Regions from separate parts of the Homo sapiens genome. Here all the other regions are linked to region 1. Evidence: promoter capture Hi-C in human tissues and cell types (Jung and others, 2019). All regions are on one chromosome and are shown on one strand. The core of a region is centred on a gene start or on the middle of the fragment in contact, and the rest is flanking DNA. Distances in the headings are between cores, read along the strand shown. Region 1 holds the start of SLC6A4 (solute carrier family 6 member 4). Region 2 holds the start of BLMH (bleomycin hydrolase). Region 3 overlaps BLMH (bleomycin hydrolase).

What was found. The method cuts DNA at HindIII sites, captures the fragments that hold promoters and counts their contacts. A contact is called where the count stands out against the background at its distance.
Region 2: the fragment with the promoter of BLMH here is called in contact with the fragment with the promoter of SLC6A4 in region 1 in 3 of the 25 tissues and cell types used here (adrenal gland, lymphoblastoid cells and mesenchymal stem cells).
Region 3: a fragment that was not itself captured here is called in contact with the fragment with the promoter of SLC6A4 in region 1 in 7 of the 25 tissues and cell types used here (lymphoblastoid cells, mesenchymal stem cells, mesendoderm cells and 4 more).

Annotation. Positions count from the first base shown.
Region 1 is chr17:30,234,447-30,237,065 of GRCh38, reverse strand. SLC6A4 (solute carrier family 6 member 4) reads left to right here and starts at 1,369. Exons shown (of 15, transcript NM_001045.6): 1 at 1,369-1,453. It also overlaps a transcript of LOC105371720 not described here. RefSeq lists cis regulatory regions at 189-228, 105-929, 1-1,290, a silencer at 953-1,135 and promoters at 636-1,390, 1-1,390, 1-1,395, 1,291-1,585, 1-1,585 and 1 more. The HindIII fragment of the contact is 6,948 bases long and covers 1-2,619 here.
Region 2 is chr17:30,290,610-30,293,228 of GRCh38, reverse strand. It overlaps BLMH (bleomycin hydrolase), which reads left to right and starts at 1,285. Exons shown (of 12, transcript NM_000386.4): 1 at 1,285-1,422; 2 at 1,721-1,918. The coding sequence starts at 1,410. RefSeq lists silencers at 875-1,284, 1,485-1,554 and an enhancer at 2,005-2,064. The HindIII fragment of the contact is 11,402 bases long and covers 1-2,619 here.
Region 3 is chr17:30,269,371-30,271,989 of GRCh38, reverse strand. BLMH (bleomycin hydrolase) reads left to right here. Exons shown (of 12, transcript NM_000386.4): 10 at 602-719. Among named protein-coding and RNA genes, the nearest start is that of BLMH, 21 kb to the left of the region's middle. The HindIII fragment of the contact is 4,054 bases long and covers 1-2,619 here.

The DNA of each region.
Region 1 (2,619 bases), core at 120-2,619:
GGTCCCCGCCCTGGCGTCTAGGTGGCACCAGAATCCCGCGCGGACTCCACCCGCTGGGAGCTGCCCTCGCTTGCCCGTGGTTGTCCAGCTCAGTCCCTCTAGACGCTCAGCCCAACCGGCCGCACAGTTTTCAGGGGTCAGTTCCTCCAAGTACAAGGGGCGGTGGCTTCTCTGGAGCTGCAAACTTGTCACTGCTATTTCCTTTCGGTCTTCTACTTCCTATCGTTCCTGGCCTCCTCTTGGGGAGAGGTAGAGCCCTCTCCTTTCCGCCTCAGGGACAACCCAAAGCAAGTACTGCATGTGCCCTTTTTAAAGTTTTAAATAATTTTAGCAAAAAGGATATTAACATTAAATCAATTTTTAAACTTTTTGAAAAAATTATCAAAACTACATGCACATGGTTCAAAACAATAGGCTCCTGCTGGGCCCTTTCAGATAATTCAAATTGTCACCAGGTTGGAGTGCAGTGGTTCGATCACGGCTCACTGCAGCCTCGACCTCCCGGGCTCAGCTGATCCTCCACCTCAGCCTCCTGAGTAGCTGGGAACACAAGCGCGAGCAACCACGCCCGGCTAATTAAAAAAATTTTTTTTCTAGAGATGGGGTCTTGCTGTGTTGCCCAGGCTGGTCTTGAATTCCTGGGCTCAAGCAATCCTCCCGCCTCAGCCTCCCAAAGCACTGTGCTCCTTTTTGACGCAGCTTTGAACTGTAGCTGGTTAACAAAATGAGAACCAGTTCTTCATTCCTTCATTGTGGAAGTCTTTATTGTGAGACTCTGGGGACGGAGAGGAATTAGACAAGGGCCTCTAAGCTGAGCTCACATCCCAGCCGGTCAGTCAGATAAACGCATGGGTATCGAGTACTGCTAGGTCCCAGGAAGAAAGAGAGAGCAGCTTTCGGGATGGGGACGATGGGGAGGTGTCCGAGGTCAAGAGAAAGCGGCACGAGCAGACCCCTGTGTGCCGTCCTGTGGGCGCGGGGCGGCAGGGGAGGCGCACACCTGCTCCTTTGTGCAGCCTCCCCCCTCCCGCAAAGTTAAAGAGCAGGAAAGTCAGGATTCCTCGCTCGGCCCTGCCCTGCCGGCTGCTCCGCGCTCCGCTCCTCCCTGCGAGCGTGTGTGTGTGTCGGGGGTCCCTCCCCTCCTGGCTCTGGGGTCGGGCGCGCACCCCGCCCCGTAGCGCGGCCCCTCCCTGGCGAGCGCAACCCCATCCAGCGGGAGCGCGGAGCCGCGGCCGCGGGGAAGCATTAAGTTTATTCGCCTCAAAGTGACGCAAAAATTCTTCAAGAGCTCTTTGGCGGCGGCTATCTAGAGATCAGACCATGTGAGGGCCCGCGGGTACAAATACGGCCGCGCCGGCGCCCCTCCGCACAGCCAGCGCCGCCGGGTGCCTCGAGGGCGCGAGGCCAGCCCGCCTGCCCAGCCCGGGACCAGCCTCCCCGCGCAGCCTGGCAGGTGGGTCCGCTTTTCCTCTCCGCCTCGAACCCACGTTTCTTTCCAGACCTTCTTCCCCGCCTCGGGGAGGGGGATAGAACCGCTGCGCCCCACCGCCCTGCGAGGAGGCGAGGAGGTGCATGCGCCCCAGCGGTGGGCGCCGGATCCTGCCCCTGCGCCCTCCACGCTCAGCAAGAGCCAGAGCTGAAGCTGACCGGCCAGAGTGGGAGACGAGGAACGTGGAGTGCTCGAAGTGGGCGGGCGTAGGGGGCTCCTTTGTCTATTGTTGCAGGGGCTTTGCAACCTCTTGAGGACCCGTGAAAGACCCCTTAAAGAGGGTCTTGAGCAAAGTGCTGTCCTGCGCTTTGGGAAGAGTTGCTTGCTTTCGTTTCAACCCATGGTTTATGTTTGATCTTTACTTTGCTGTCATCGCGTGCAGGTGGCTTTATGCAAAGGGAGAGTTCTGGTTGACACAAATGCCCAGACAGCTAGAGAAATCTCTGAGTGGCGCCTAAGTGGGCCGAGTCTCCGTGCGCTTGGGTGGTTTCACTGTCAGAGCTGAGGCGCTCTCAGACACCTCACAGGCCATTCAGAATGTATGTGAAACTCCAACTCCAACGACTGTGCTACGTGGTTGAAGGATATAACCATCATTTGCTTGAAAATTGTGTACATTCAAACTTGTTCTTGAAAAAAAGCTCTCTGGAGCTCAAGAGTGGATTTGGGTCTTGGGCTAAGGAGCAGATTTTCTTCTGAACTGGGGCTTTTGCATATTGAATTGTTCCTTTTCCATTTGGGACTCTGAAGAATTTGAGAGGGGTAGAATTTCTGAATCAGACATTACAAAGACTTTGTGTATGTATTTTTACCATCAGTTTTGTCCAGAAAAGTGAACCTGGTCAATGGATTATTTATGAGCCTGCTAGCTAACTCTCATCATAGGAAGACGAGAGCAAATATTTAATGTGTTTTGCCTTCAGTTACATAGGAAAAATGTCTAAGAAGGTGACATTGGGACTTGTGTTTAATGAAACAGAGAACTGTGGGCAGCGTCAGTGTTGGGTTTTTAGGAGCGTAGGGAGCACACAGCTTTGACTCTTTGTCCCATTACTTGCTTCTGTGTGAAGCCACTGAGGCCCCAGGGTTCGGGTTTTCCTGCCACGCACTCTGGGGTGGCAGTGACCGTT
Region 2 (2,619 bases), core at 36-2,535, 56 kb before region 1:
CCAGTGATTTCTTTCTGTATAATTTTCAGCCTCTTCTTTTTCAGATATTGAAAGAACCTCAGAATAGGATGGTTGATGGGCCCACTTAAGATAGTTGCTATGTTATAGCCCCAATTTTTAGCCGAGTCTCTCTAGGGACATAGAAACCGTGCTTTCTCAAATGACTGATTGGTGCCTGAGTATGGATTTTTCCAGATATCAGAGTTCCTTAGAACTGCGATGATTTTCAATCTAAGAAGACCTAGATTCTAGGTTACACACACACACACTCAACCTCATCGTTTTGAATAGCAGATACAGGGTTTCAGTGTTTTTGTTTTACTCTCTGTGGGTTCTATCCCAGCATCTTACTAAGGGCTGAGATTTCAGGGCATGAAACACGGAATCAACAAAAACAAGGTTTTTACAATCTCAAAACTTTGGGAAACTGTTGAGTTATCTTGAAAGCCTAGAGGGGGAGCATCAGTTAGTTTTGTAGAGAACTCGGCGAAACAATATTGATGCATACGGCTAGCCTCTGTCATCCTCCTGAGTTAAACCCAACGGGACATGCTGGACTATACAGGAGCCACTCGTGGACTCCGTGAAGACCAGATGGGTAGTGTTCTTGAAATGAGCAGATGTCTATTTGTAGAACTCTGGTAGTAGCTTTGGAGTGGGTGGGGAAGAGCTTGGTTCCCATTCCCCCTCAAAGACAATTATTTGCTTCTGATGAGAATCCAAGCAACAAGTTGCCATTGAGAATGCAGTGATTGGTCAGCAAACGAAGCCTATAGGAAGAGCCTTCGGGTGCATTCCTTGTGACATATCGACCCGTCCTAAGCCCGACGCTTAATTATGGGACCTCTCAGCTCCTCCCTCCCGCCTCGAGCTCCCTTTTGGCTTCTCACAAGGCTTCCTGGGGACGATTCCCCGATGCTAGAGTACTGGGGGTCTGGGCCCACAGGGAACCCGTCAGCCTCCCTCCTTGGAGCGGGCCTGATCCCGGGAGGGCGCCCGCGCGGCCCGGAGGCGGGAACCTAGGGGGAGAAGGCGCCGGCGCCGCCCTGGCGCGCAGACCATCTGTGCGGTCCTGCGCGGGGGCAGGCGCGGCCTCAGCCCCCGGGCGCTGGCGGACCCAGCGCGTCAGCTAGGCCGCCCCCGTCGGCCCTCCCCCGGGCGGGGCCAGCCCCGACGGCGCTGACTCAGCAACGCGAGGGGGGAGTTTTGTCCCTCCGCGGACCCCGTTTCTCCCAGCCTCAGCCTCCCCGCCGCCGCCGCCGCCGCCGCCGCCGAGCCGGTTTCCTTTTTCCGGCGCTCCGGGTGCGAGAGACAGGTCGGGCCCCCTAGGCAGCGAGCCGCAGCGCAATCCCGGCGCTCGCCCAAGGACCCTGGAAGCTACCGTTACCCCGCCGGGCAGCGTGGGCGCCATGAGCAGCTCGGGTGAGGTGCCGCCGTCCCCCGCCGCGGTCCTCTGGAGGAGCTCCGCGGTCCCCGTGAGGCCCGGCGGCGGGGAAGGCCGGGGGCTGGGACCCTTGGCGATGGCGGGGAGGGAGCTTTCGGGGCAGGCTGGATCGGCCTGGAGGGAGACAGCTCCTTGGAGGAGGATGCCGCTTATGGGTTTCCCCGCTGCAGCGGGCACCCCAGGATGCGCTTACGAAGTTAGATTCGGGACGCGGGAGCCCCAGATCAGCCCTTTCCCCCTCTTTTTGCGTTAAAATCCTGTTTGGTCTCCCAACAGGACTGAATTCGGAGAAGGTAGCTGCTCTGATACAGAAACTGAATTCCGACCCCCAGTTCGTACTTGCCCAGAATGTCGGGACCACCCACGACCTGCTGGACATCTGTCTGAAGCGGGCCACGGTGCAGCGCGCGCAGCATGTGTTCCAGCACGCCGTGCCCCAGGAGGGCAAGCCAATCACCAACCAGAAGAGCTCAGGTGTGGGCTTCCACTTCTCCCATACGTTCCTTGACCTTCCTGACAGCGTCCCATTTTGGTGTCTTATTTAAGAGTGGTCTTAAATTCGTACTGAAAGAACTGGTCGTAAATTCGTAAAGAATGAGGCACAGGTACAGGCAGGTCTAAGAACATTACCCATGTGGTTTGTTTTGCTGTTCTGTGGCTTGTTAGTACATGCGGTTAGAGTACAAAAGTGACATGTCCATGAGTATACGTTTGAGTGTAATTGACTATATTATGTTCCAATGCTGTGTGGTTTGTAGCCCGTGTCTTGGAGATGTATGGTCTTGGTCACAAAACAGAACATGTGAAAATGTTCATATCTTTGGAGGACTCCCCAGAAATGCCCTGAAGGCCCTATACTATGAAATAGAAAAGATACAATGTAATTACATTAAAATGTCATCAGATGTTACTTTTAAATATGCTTCTTGGTTACAACTGAAGCTAATGTGCTGATGGGCTCAGTTCCCACCAGTAGATCAGTTTGTAATACAGAAAAAAGTTCTGTTCTCATGCCTTGCTGGTCAAGAAGTCTCGTTTTGCTATCTGCTTTCTAGCACCACTCTCAGAAAAAACAGGTATAGTGAAAGATTGGATATCCAGCAATCTAAATAAGGAGCACATTCTCACAACAAAATTGTACTAAACGGATTTTTTAAAGTCTTTCTATACTTAAA
Region 3 (2,619 bases), core at 34-2,533, 35 kb before region 1:
CTGCTAAAAAAAAGAATTAATGAGGTTTAAAAAATTTTTGAAAACAGGTACATGCAACTCCCAAGTGTGTCTCTCACACTAACTAGAACATGCAAGGACCTCTCTCACATGTATTTTGCCTTTTGTTTCTTTGTATTTAACAATGTGAGTGTAGTGCTTATGCAAAAATATTCCCCAATATTTTGGACATTATTTATTTAAATTTTAATCAGCAGTGATTTAAATGAATTCAGAAACTGGTTGGTTCCACCAGCTCAAAAGAGATCAGTTTTCTAAGAAGTTACTTCAAACGCTTTTTTCATTATTTTTTAAAGTTTTCTTGCCTAAATGACAATGTAAACTTGTCAGCTTCTGATGTGGAGAATTTATGTTTAATCATCTCCTTTTTTTCCTGCATACTCTTGTGACACATAGAGAATGGACTCCCACTGAGAGACTAAGTTCTGCATGTTCCATATTCTTTCTGAAGAGCTACAGCTAGAGCCTTATTTATTTGGAGCTGTTGAGCCCCTTCAGTTTCTTCTGAATTCCTTTTACAACCAAAAGCCAGTTTTCCCCATGATCGTACTCCCTTTATTTTGTACTATCATTCTTTTTACAGCTATGACCATGAGTTAGTGTTTGGTGTCTCCTTGAAGAACATGAATAAAGCGGAGAGGCTGACTTTTGGTGAGTCACTTATGACCCACGCCATGACCTTCACTGCTGTCTCAGAGAAGGTATGACCCTCAGCATGCCTGCTGGAGTGTTTGCACAGATGGATCTACATTCTCCTGTAGACTGTTTACCCAACAAAGCTTCATTCATAGTGTATATGATTTCTGTTAAAAGTTAGTTTCCAAGTAAGACATCGTACCTGCGTCACTTGGGGCTTGGCTGCGTGCTTAGAGGTAATATAAAAATAGGAACTTTCTATGAGGAGAATTTGGGTCAGCAGGGAGCGACCAAGTAACTGTTTCTGTAACTTTGGAAGGTCATGGTTTAAAGAGAAGTCAGCAAGGGAACTTGAGAGAAGATAACTTCTACTTTATAAGGAATCAAAATGTGCCCTGAAAGTGTTCATATCTTGATGACCTATGTTCAGATTTCCCTTCATTTGTCATTCAGATTCTTTTGCAGTAAAATGTCAATAACAGTAATTTGTGGACTCCATACCCATTTCTAGTTATATGCAGAGCTTCAGGAAATTGGATGTAAAGTATTTTGAATTTCCTGTGAAATAGTGTGTATAGTAATACCACTTTTTATAGGTTATAGAGTTGGAAACAACTGAAATTTTATCTTTCACAAATAAACTCCTCACTTCCAGTCAGTAAAAATAGATATTTTCACCTCTGTGCTCAGGATCATCAGGAAGGAAGAACTTGAACTACTTTAATTCTTTACCACCACAAGCAAAAATATTCTTTCTAGCCTAATTCCTGGAAAGTCACAGAATAACTACCTTATATAAATTGTTCTAGAAAATCATTTTTTTTTTTTTTTTTTGAGATGGAGTCTCACTCTGTCATCCAGGCAGGAGTGCTGTAGTGTGATCTCAGCTCACTGCAACCTCCACCTCTGGGGCTCAAAAGATTCTCCTGCCTCAGCCTTGCGAGTAGCTGGGATTACAAGTGCCCGCCAACACACCCAGCTGATTTTTTTGTATTTTTAGTAGAAGTGGGGTTTTGCCATGTTGGCCAGGCTGGTCTCGAACTCCTGACCTCAGGTGATCTGCCCGCCTCAGCTTCCCAAAGTGCTGGGATTACAGGCATGAGCCACCGCACCCAGCTAGAAAATGGTTTGATAGAGAATTGTTTTTGCTATCCTATCCACTAGATTTATGATCTTTAAAATGTTTAGAAATATCTTAGCATATCATTATGCCACATTTTCCTAACTAGCCTATCTAAAAGTCCTGATTTGCTTTTTATACTCTATGCAGAATTGTGAGTGGGATGGGGTTTTCTTTCTGTACCTTTTTCTCACCTCTTCCAACTACTTCACTTGAAGGGTGCCCTTTCAACCCCACAGCATCTAAGATCCCTGTGCTCTCTCTGTATTCAAAACTTGGTCTTAAAGGTTTAATTACATTCCTGCAAATTATAAGGCTAGTGCTTTAAGTAGTAGAACTCTGAGGTATTCTCAGTTTTATATGAGATCAAACACAGTATGGTGTAAAGGTGCCCTGAACTTAAGAGGCAGTCTTAATGCTGATACTCCTGATCCTCATGTAGTTTTCATAAATAAATGTAAAGGTTGAGGTCTTGTAAACCAGCGAGCTGTTTTCCTCATTATTCCATTCGTCAGTAATCTCAGCTCTGTAGTTAGCGAGACTCCCACACCAAGAAACAGGTTTTTAGGGTTACCCAGGAGAATGTGTGGAGTATAATTTGCATTACTTATGTAGATCAAGAAAAGTCATTTTAAAACAGCAAAAGGTGATTTAAGTGTTATCACCCCAATTTAACAAAATTCTCACATTTGAATTATAAACAAAACATAAAGTTAGGTTATAAAAGGAATTTTAGACCGGGTGCAGTGACTCACACCTGAAATCCCAGCACTTTGGGAGGCTGAGGCGGGAGGATCACCTGAGGTCAGGAGTTCAGGACTAGCCTGACCGACATGGCGAGACCC